Regions from separate parts of the Homo sapiens genome. Here region 2 is linked to region 1. Evidence: promoter capture Hi-C in 16 types of primary human blood cells and fetal thymus (Javierre and others, 2016). All regions are on one chromosome and are shown on one strand. Each heading gives the region's core, a stretch centred on a gene start or on the middle of the fragment in contact. The rest is flanking DNA. Distances are from core to core; before and after follow the strand shown.

Region 1 (5,267 bases), core at 1,837-4,336:
CAACTAGCTGCATATCAACATATAGCATAAAGGAATGTTAGATCCAATTCAGAATTGACTCAAAAATAATCAAGATACTTGTTTCTACTTGCACATTCCTTTGCCTTCACATACAAAGAGAAATTCACTGTGGTTCAACTACTGTTATTACCCTGCATTACTGCAAATTTCTCTGAACTGATCTTTCTGTTTCATTATCGCCACTGTTAGCCCCCAATAATGAGGATCAAGGCAGATCATTTCAGGCATGAATAGGCACATTGCCATGATTTTCTCATTTGTCTGTATACATTTGCCAAAAAAAGGAATTATCCAGAAATCTTGACTCTTTGTCTTAGTCTTCTAAATCCAATTTCAAAGGATAGATTCTTCCTTTGCAATTACTCTCACATCCATCCTTTTATATATCCCAGTTGAGGCTCTTTTCATATCTTGCCCAAACCAGTACAATAGCCTCCTTACTTTTCTGCTTGCCTTTTAGCTCTTTCCTCGCTGCCTACATTCATCCTGCGCAAAACTTTTATAAAACACCTTTAGAAAATTTTGACCACAATGCTCTTTTCCTATATATTAACCTTCAACAGATTCTGGTTGCTTATAGTAACACATTCAAACACACCTCTGTCTAGTGTTTAAGGCTGTGGGAATCTGGACTTTTCTAGCCAATGCATAACTGCCCTAGCTTCCCAAATCCTAAAATGCATTGAAGTAGTTTCAAGCATTGCCCACCACATGCCTGCCACACAGCCCCGTGGTGCTTCCTGCCACACAGCTGGGTGCTTCCCACCCCTGTGCTTTTGTTCATGTGATTCCATTCCTTAGCCTGTACTCTGCCATGCTCCACCATGCTCTTTCAAGAACAGTTCAAATCCCAGATGCTTTTGCTCTCATTTTTCTCCCAGCATGAGATGCCCTTTTTTCTGTCTACTCATTGTACCCATCGTTCAAGGCCGAGCATAACTTCTAACTTATCTCTGAAGTCTTTCCTAACCATTGCGGCATTCAATCCTTTGAGAAAGGCTTTTGTGGGGTCACCAGTTACCAGACGTTGCCTGAGCTCTAGGGATCACAGCTGGGTAAGACACTGTTCCTAATTTCCAGGATGATGTCCTCTCCTCTTTCCTTGAGCTCCTTTTGCAGTTACTACCCAAAGAATTGCCTATTAATAATGCGATGCCTCAGGAAATTTCTTCTGTTTTTAATTGCCAATTACATTCGCTTAACTTAAAAAATGACTTATCTTCCCTAGGTATAGATTGTAAAGACTCAGTTTCCCCCCAAAGTATCTGGTTTAACATGGGAGTAGAGAGAGATATACTATTATGTATCAGGTATTGGGCTACCGTTTTTGCTAGTGCTTCTCCTGGTGTGATACGTCTAGCAGTTCATTCTATGGGGCACACAAAACCCATGATATTACAGATACTGTTGCTTAGGATAAGGCTAAAGTAAATAGTGCCTATTTAAGTGTTTTTAAAAATGTGTTGATTTAAAAACAAATGTTAAATAGTAATGTTTCAAGTAATAGCTATGGCAGAAATGGTAGAAGTGGTCCTTTAAAGTCTTTCAAATGCATTGTATGATATCACATTTATTCCTCAGAACAACCTTGTAAATTGGAAACCAAAGTCCAGAAAAATAATAGAACTTACTCAACTCACTAAGATAACAGATCAAACTTTCCTCCTTTACCATAATACCCTTTTGCATATAGAAAGATTTAGTTTAATTCTTGAATATGGGTGTCTGACCTGTGTTTTCATACTCCATCTCCTCAAAAAGATTGCTTTAGCTTTCTAAATCAAATCCTTCACCTTCAGAACAATAAAAGAGGCATACCAGAGTCATTTTGGTGTATTTCTAAGCATATTTACAAAATATACAAGGAAAAGGACCTGATTCCCTGGCTGGGTGAGTGAAACGTTAATTCTTCACCTTGGCACCTCAACCTACAGCTGTAATAAGGGCCGTTATGCCCAAATAGGCCCTTAAACGGAAGACCTGCTGAGCAGAGACCCACTTTCCCAGCCCTGCTCAACTGCCTCAGCTTTTCTGCCAACTGACCAGGCGGAAGCAGCAGCAGGGGAGGAGGGACTGCAGGTAGGTGGGGAGGGGATCATTTTGAAAGCCCTGAATCCCTTGCAGGGAAGAAGCAGCTGCTCCTTGTTTTTCTAAACATCTGTCCCATCTGTCCCAGGCCTCAGCTCACCCTTTCGTGGCTCGAGCCAGTTAAACGTGAATTTGACAAGGAAGCACTTCTGAAGGCTGGTTTGTGAGTGGAAATGAACCTAAGTGCCACCTAGAAAGTTTCTTCTATTGAGAAGAGGTGAGTAGTGGGTCTTCAGCGGGACGGCTATTACCTTCCTTCATTTTACTCTCACAAAACATACAGCTTTTACTGATAGAGGCAGGATTTGTAACATCACCCAAATCATACTGTACGTCCTGAGGATATTATTTCACAACATAGAGGTACTTCTAGAGCCCATATTTTAACGTCTAGGAGAGCCACAGTCTTTGATTTGAAGGAGAAATAACGATATTGCACACACCATATCACCTTTATGGTAGAACAAGCTGTGAACAACTAGTGCGTGTGGCGTTTATCACATTTAACAGCGTGTTGCTTTTATTTGTCTCCTCTGCCACACTGCTCCTTGAGAACAGGGACGTTATTTTTATTGTTATTTTCCCCTCGTATTCAGAACCGTGGCTGGAACTTGGCAGGCATGAAATAGACATTTATGAATGAATGAACGTTAACGAAGAAAAAAAAAGGAACTGGATGATTCATTTGGTTCTCCGAAGGCGGGTATGGGGGACGGGGCTCGGACTTTGGCCCAGTCACCGAGTGAGGCACAGTCCCAAAGTCCTGCAGGTCCGCCTCCAGTCACGGCCGACCCGGGTCTGCAACTGGTGCACAAGCCTCCTGAAGCGAGGCTGCGCGCGTCCTGCACGGTCCCGCCCCAAAGGCACGCAGACACGCCCCCTTTCCTGGTCATTCCCCCTGCGAAGTCAGTTCCACTCTAGTTACAGGATTGGGGCGGGGCCAGAAAGGCGCAGGCGCAACGGGCGGCGGAAGTAGGAGCCTGGGAAGGAAGAGGGAACGGGTCCTGGCGGTGCTTTGCAAAGGGCCCGTGTTTCTGTTGCGGGAAGCTCCCGGGGGTCGCACGTGCGTCCGAGCCCAAGCCCCTCCCCTCCACTCCCCTTCCTGCGTGCCCCGGAGCCGCCAAGCGGCTACGTTCTTCTCGGCCCGCCGAGATGGCGCTCGACCCCGCAGGTACCGGGGCGGGAAGCGGGGTTTGCCGAGGGGCCTCGCCCCGGGTCTCACGCCGCGGGCCATGCGGGCTGGATGCCGACCTGGGAAAGGTGCAGAGCTCTGGGTAGCATTGCTTCCACCAGCGTCTCCTCATACCCGGCGGCTGCTTCGCCCGGTCTGAGGTCATCTTCTCACTTGTTGGGGATTATGGTTATCTGAGGTTGCGTTTGTTGTCTAAAGTATCATCCATTGTGGTTTCCAACTTAACGCGACTAGTCTCTTCATTGTCACCCTCTTTTCGCCCCTTAAGGTCACAGATGCATTTAATGTATGCTGCAGACACTCTGGCCCCAGAAAAATTTGTATATTTGTTCTGGCGCACAGTTTTACATTTCTGTTTGGGAGTTCATGGACCCCGAGTTCATCCTTGTAACCCAACTTAAAAACATATTTCAAAGGATCCATCACTATGGCAGGAGTCAGTTTCTTTGGAAAGGATCTTCAAAATCTTGAATGTTGTTTTAATCTCTTTGCTTCCAGCCACTTCCGTTTGCAGCAATAGTTAACTTACCCTCGAATTCCCGTCCTTGTGGAAGGTCACCTGCAGTATCTTTGCGTTAGGCTATTTTTGCAAGGGAATAGATAACATTTTTGGAGGGAATGGTAGTTGGTCTAGTCCATTTCTTTCATTTTATGGATACAAAAAGTCAAAACATTGAGAGGTAAATGGCGTCAAACTTGGGAGATTCAGAAATGGAAAATGCTCTTTCGGAGCCTTCAAGGAGCATGGAAAATATATGTAGCACAGAAATAATGTTTTAATTGAACATGTTATTACCATGCTAAGTGTTCTCTATTATCCAACAATAATATGTGGTATGGTAGGTCCTTTTAGCTCCATTTTACAGATTAGGAAACTGAGGCGAAGAGAAGTTAAGTGACTAGTCCAGCAGGTAGTGGTAGATCAGGGAGTACTCTAATTTGAAGCATAGAGGAGTTCTGGAACATAATGATCATATTCATTTTGGACTAGGTGGTTATGAAGCAGTTAGCAGTTGATCTGGGCTTTGAGGGATGGAATTTCCAGTGGTTGGAGCTGGAGAAGAGGCAGCCCTATGAGCAAAGGTTTAGATAGTAAGGTGCACTGTGCGATGCTTGGTTTCAGGATGACTACCATGATTTGGTTCTTGAGGGTAGAAGGGGTAGAGTATAAGTGAGGGGTGAGTAAGGAAGGTTCAAGTTTAGGCCCATATAATTTATGGTATCTTTTTTTTTTATTTTACTGAAACGGAGTCTCACTGTCGCCCAGGCTGGAGTGCAGTGGCGCTATCTCGGCTCACTGTAGCCTCCGCCTACTGGGTTCAAGCAATTCTCCCACCGCAGCCTCCTGAGTAGCTGGGATTACGGGCGCCCGCCACCACGGCCGGCTAATTTTTGTATTTTTAGTAGAGATGAGGTTTCGCCGTGTTCGCCATGCTGGTCTGGAACTCCTGACCTCAAGTGATCTGCCTGACTTGGCCTCCCAAAGTGCTGGGATTACAGGTGTGAGCCACCGCACCCAGCCTAATTATGGTACTTCTGAACTTGAAGTGACCTTTAAAGTAATCTCATACGGATGAGGAGACTGAGAATGAGAGAGGTTAAAGATTTCCATATATCTACACTTTTTGAATTTAGACAAGGAAATTTGGGAAAAAAGTCTTCATACTTGCTCTCTTCACTTGCTTACCTTCCAGTTACTCATAAGCCACTCCAATCTTGTGTTGTACCCAAGGCCACACAGCTAGTTGCTGGTAGAGTCAAGTCTGGTTAGAACCTAGGTAATTTCATTTCCAGTCCAGTGCTGTAGACCATGCCACCTTTTGAGTATTGATTAAACAAAGACTTGTTGAGTGTCTGGTATATGTCCCATATTGTTCTGGACCCTAGGGAACAGTAGTACATAGGACAAACAAAATTCCTGCTCCCAATAAAGCTTATCTAGTGGTAGAAAAAACAATTAACACCC
Region 2 (5,267 bases), core at 1,020-3,519, 270 kb before region 1:
ATGTTGTCCAAAGCTGGCCTTGAACTCCTGGGAGTCAAGCGATCCTCCCACCTCAGCCTTCTGAGTAGCTGGGATTACAGGTTTAACCACCATGCCCAACCTTGATGGGCCTTTTAACATGCTGCAGTGAGCATGTTTGTAGAACTTTATGTACTTGCAATACTTTAGGATGGATTCCTAAAATTAGATTTGCTGCTGCCAACATTTTCTTCAAAACAGTACACCTGTAAGTCCTTAGCAAACAGGAGTTTCTTCTTTCCCAAAATTTTTTTCCAGCATTGGTTCTTAGCAAGCTATTTAAATTTTTGTCACTGATAAGCAAAATGGCTTCTTAGTCTTTTAAATTTGCATGTCCTTAGTTATTGCCAAGCTTTTCCATCTCTTCTATGTTTATTGGCCATTTGTGTTTATTTTGTGTGAACTGCCTGTTTAGATCCATTGCTTAATTTTCTATTACATTGACCTTTTCATATTAATTTATTTAAAGTAATTTTGTATTTTGAATATTAACCATTTATTTGTAATATATTGTGTTTTCTCCTAGTCACTTTTATTTTTATGTATTCTTTGCTTTAAAATTTTAAAAAATATTTATACAGTTATTAAATTTTTGTATTGGGAGTTTGAATTTTAAGCTTTCCCACCCCCAAGCTTAGAAACTATCTTCCATACCTTTAGTTTTCATGCTTTTATTTTTTTATTTTTACATTTAGATCTCTAATTCAGATGAAATTTATTTTTGTATGTAATACAAGGTAACATCTAACTATTTTCTTATATATAAACATCCAATTGCTTTAACAGAATTTGCCTCAATCCATTTTCCTTGGGATTTAAAATACTACTTTAGCACATATTGAAACAGGATATTTCCCTGACCCCTTCGCGGGACTCTTGACAGGGGTGCCATGTTTACTCAGCCTGTCACTCTCAACTCCTTGCTGGAGGGAGTGAGTGGGCAAACGAGGCGGGAACTGGAGTACACCAGCGCTAGAACAAGTTAGCTGCTTCAGTGTCAACAGGAGCAAACTCCACTAACTTGGACCTGCTCTATTCCACTCCTCACAGGAGGGAGTGTGCAGGTGAGCAGGTGCAGGAGCTGGGGTGAGACTTTTGGGCACCAGCAGGAGCAAACTCTGTGCAGGCCCCACGACAGCATCTGTGGGGGTACCTGTGACTCCTGAAGCCCCAGTGGGCATGTTACAGTACCCTTTTAGTTCTGCTGTCCACATATAGTTTAAGTGTCAACAGGTCAGTGGGCCCTTTTTTATCTGCACTCGCTCCTGAGCTCTTGTCTATTGTCAAGGAAAAATGAGGTTGCATGAACCAATTGAAGGATGGTAAATGCAGGGGATTTTATTGCCAGTGAAAGTAGCTGTCAGTGGGAAGGGGAGCTGAAAAGGGGACAGGTAGGTAGGTAATCTTGTTCAGAAGTCTGGCCAGAGATGGCTGGATTCTTCTCTGAAGTTACACCCTCAAGCTGTCCCTCTGAAGTCAAGCCACTTGTCTCCAGTGTCCAGCCATAGTTGTCCTGACATCCAGCTGCTTGTTCCTCTCTGCTGACTGAGTCTAGGGTCTTTATAGGCAGAGGATGAGGTGGGGTGGGGCCATGGGTGGTTTAGGAAAAGGCAACATTTGAGTGGCAAAACAGGGATTTTGGGCTGCAGTTTCAGGCTTTTCAGCTTGAGAGTGGGGCTTCACCATGAACCCCTCCCTTTTCTGCCTAGAATTTTTCTGCCTCCTGTCCCTATGAATATTAAATCTCTACTTATTCTACTCCTATAATTACTCTGTTAATGCTAATCTCCTAATTATGATACATTTTCCAAATTATCTTGGCTATTTTCATGTATTTTCCCAGGTTTAATATCAATTTGTCAAGTTAAAATTAAATACACATCTAAAACAATTGCTTTTGTAGTGAATTATCTGAAATTTACATATTTATTATTTCCATTAGATAATACGGCATATCTCTCCATTTTTTCAGACATTATTTCATGCCCCTCAGTACAATTTTAAAGTTTCCTAGATATTCTAATATTTTTGTTGCATCACTTTATGCAATAGTTTTTTCTTCATTTAATCTACCAAGGAAATAAAAATGTGCTAATAGGTTTTTTAAATATTGAATCATCCTTGAAAATGGTGTATTTTAAAAATTGTTTTACTGCATTTGATTTTACTGCACTGACATTTTGCTTAGAAATTTTTGTTTGTATATTAGTAAGGGATAAATCACTAGCACTTTTCTTTTAGTGCTATCTTTTTTTTTTTATTCTGATGTGAACATTGCATTGATTTTGTAGTCTGAATAACACAAAACTGCCTGTTTTTGGAGAGTTAGTTATACTCTGAGCCTGGAATCTTATTACAGATCTTTGACAAACTTTTCATTTCCTCTCTGGATTAGTAGTCTACTTGATTTTCTATCTTTTCTTGAGTATTTGTTTCCATTTATGAATGTCTTCTGTATGTATTCAGAGAGATTTTCTGCACAGGTCCTTAGGGATGCTTACCTCCGCCAGTATTACAGTATTTTGGGCAACTCTTCCCCCAAATAATTCTCTCTAGCACTACCCTCTGACCCTAGATCACACAATTCAATACTACCAAGTGCTTAAGAAACTTAGTATCTGAGTGCCAGTTAGATTAGTACCACCAATAAAATCATGCTATGCCTTTGTCATATAAGCACAGAAAGGAAACAATCTTGACCTCTATATGCCAGCTGGCCACAATAGGCAACCTCAAATTCCCTGATGTGGAATTTTCAAGCAATTGAAACTAAGTCTACATAATTTCCCTAGCAATCAAAGAGACAACCTCCACCTCCCCACTCCCTCAATCCTTTTTGGTTTTTCACTAACAGCCCTATAATATCACAGCTTTACAAACGTCCTGGCATTTATTTTCTTGCTGTACAGGGTAGAGACAAAATAAAATCCTTTGTGGACCTGCAAGGAAATTCTCAATTATGTTTTCTTCTTTTACTTGAAACCACCTACTCTTTTTCTTTGCATATTTTTCAGTTGGATTAAAGAAGGCTGGAGTTGAAAATGTTCTGACACTTAAAAAATAGTTTTTGTCAGGAGGGTTTTTCCCAGTTTGAAAAATAATTCAGTGTGCCTCCAAATAAACAAATGCATCACAAGAACTGGAAGCCAAGAGGCTAAAAACCAACCAACCAACCAAACAAACAAAAACAAAAACAAAAGAAACTCAACCCTAACATCTGCTTAGGTATATGTCAGTACTTGGCGGAAAAAAATTAAACTCACATCTGTTATGGCTGCCTAGATCCCTACAATGTGACATATGCTTCGATAGGTCCAACTGGAAAGCAAGACCCAGGAAGAGACAGATTCAGCTTTCAGCCAATGATTCTTTGGATTGTCAGAAATTTGGCTTTAAGTTTCAAAATCTGCTCTCGACTTTCTCATTAAATTACCTTACTACAGATAATCAGATGGTGATGTATACAGTTTCAAAATAGAGAAGGTTTAAAAAAATATTTAGTTCATGGAATTGTTTTACAAATGAGGAAACTGAGACACAAGAAGATTCATTAATTTGGTTAATATTCAACAGCTTGGTAGTAGCAGAACTCAGATCAGAACCTAGATCCCATGACTGAGAAAACATATTCTTTACTCTACATTGCACAGCTTTTATACAGGTAAAGAATGAACCTTCGAAAACAAGCTGGGGTCTCTCTTTGGTTCCATGTATACCTGAAGACTCTTGAACCTGCCATATTCCAACAGACATATAAGATTTATGCAGAGTAATGTAAGATGTGGTATGTGGCAAACTTTAAAAGATATGCAAAATTACATAACTGACACTTTAGAAGACTAAATGAGGTGCATATAAAGCACTTAACATAAAGCTTGGCACCTATACAGAGCTTAATAAATGCAGACAGTACCTCGAACATAGAGGCACTCAATTAATATTTGTTGTATCAATGAATATTTATCCATCTTCTTACTAAAGGCTCCTTCTGGGATATTCCCAACCTTCAAAATAAAGAAAACTGTCTCCCAGGATGAGTACGTTTCTTTAGGCAACAAGATGCCCCTAGCATAAATTCAACACTTTCAGCTGAGAAACCTGGGCTGTCAATCTTTAGTTACCTCATGGTGGCAGACAGTACTGGGTTCTTGTCAAAAACTGGACTTTTGTTTGATGTTGTGGCAGAGACTGCTGGTGGCCCACTGTATAAGTTAACTATTGTGACAGTACTGCTGCATTAGCAAACAACCATGAAGATTTGTGGAAATAGCTCATTACTGGAGGAGGTAAGAGAAGATGAGTCCCTATGGGAAAGGGGCAAAAAGCGAGGATGCAGGCTTTAAAGGAATATTTTCATGGAGGAAGATTATAAGAATAGCATTTTCCTTGTCTTCCTTTTAAGAACTAGAGGCATTTAATTGCATCAGAAATAAGTATTACTATGATGTCCATCTCTTCATAACACAGTGACTAAGACTACAGAGAGAAAACTCTAGTTCCTTTACAGTGCTCACCCATTGTAGCAAATGGGGAAGTCAATCACGTTTCAAAATCACGTGGATATGAGTCAGCATGCTGGTTCCTGACTTACTAGATCTTGCACAATATATCAGTAATAAGCCTAAATTTCCCAATCTAGCTGTAAAATGGGGATAATGTTAGGATCTACTCAGAAGGTTTGTGGGTATATTTATATGAAACACCTTGCTTTAGGCCTATCTTTTAATATTTGGTTGGGTCTGGCTGCTCCAGCATCAACAAGTTATACCAGGTCCTTCTCCCAAACCCTCCAAAAGGCCCGACCATACACCTGACTTTCGTGGATGGAGATGGTATCTCATCAGGACAATACCATTTAATTCTTTTTCTTTTATCTCTATTATTCTGGCACCAATTTGATAGTCACCATCACCTCACGGTTAGGACTTAGACACATAGTAGGAGTTCACTACACTGTAGTGGTTTCCCCCTCAGCAATTGCGCTGCAAGAAAATACTTAGAATTAAAAAACAAAGTAGGACACTAACTAAAAGGAACTCGAGAGTTGGCAGGTTGGTAGGTAACTAGCCATGGTGTGATGCTCACCTGAGTAAAACAATGGTGGAGAATAGCAAATAGGAAGATAGGACGAGACAATGTGGAGTGCTATTGTAAGTCTACTAGGTGAATTGCATTATTTGTAGCAAACTGAGCTGTAAAGTGAGAAATCAGTGAGATGTGAGATTTGCTGATGATATTGGATAACAATG

The links. The method cuts DNA at HindIII sites, captures the fragments that hold promoters and counts their contacts. A CHiCAGO score of 5 or more calls a contact.
Region 2: a fragment that was not itself captured here is called in contact with the fragment with the promoter of CMC1 in region 1 in 1 of 17 cell types (M2 macrophages); the score reaches 5.2 in M2 macrophages.

Annotation. Positions count from the first base shown.
Region 1 is chr3:28,238,533-28,243,799 of GRCh38, forward strand. It overlaps CMC1 (C-X9-C motif containing 1), which reads left to right and starts at 3,087. Exons shown (of 4, transcript NM_182523.2): 1 at 3,087-3,280. The coding sequence starts at 3,262. RefSeq lists a silencer at 3,300-3,379. The HindIII fragment of the contact is 9,835 bases long and covers 1-5,232 here.
Region 2 is chr3:27,972,562-27,977,828 of GRCh38, forward strand. No RefSeq gene overlaps it. Among named protein-coding and RNA genes, the nearest start is that of LINC01967, 53 kb to the right of the region's middle. The HindIII fragment of the contact is 3,241 bases long and covers 650-3,890 here.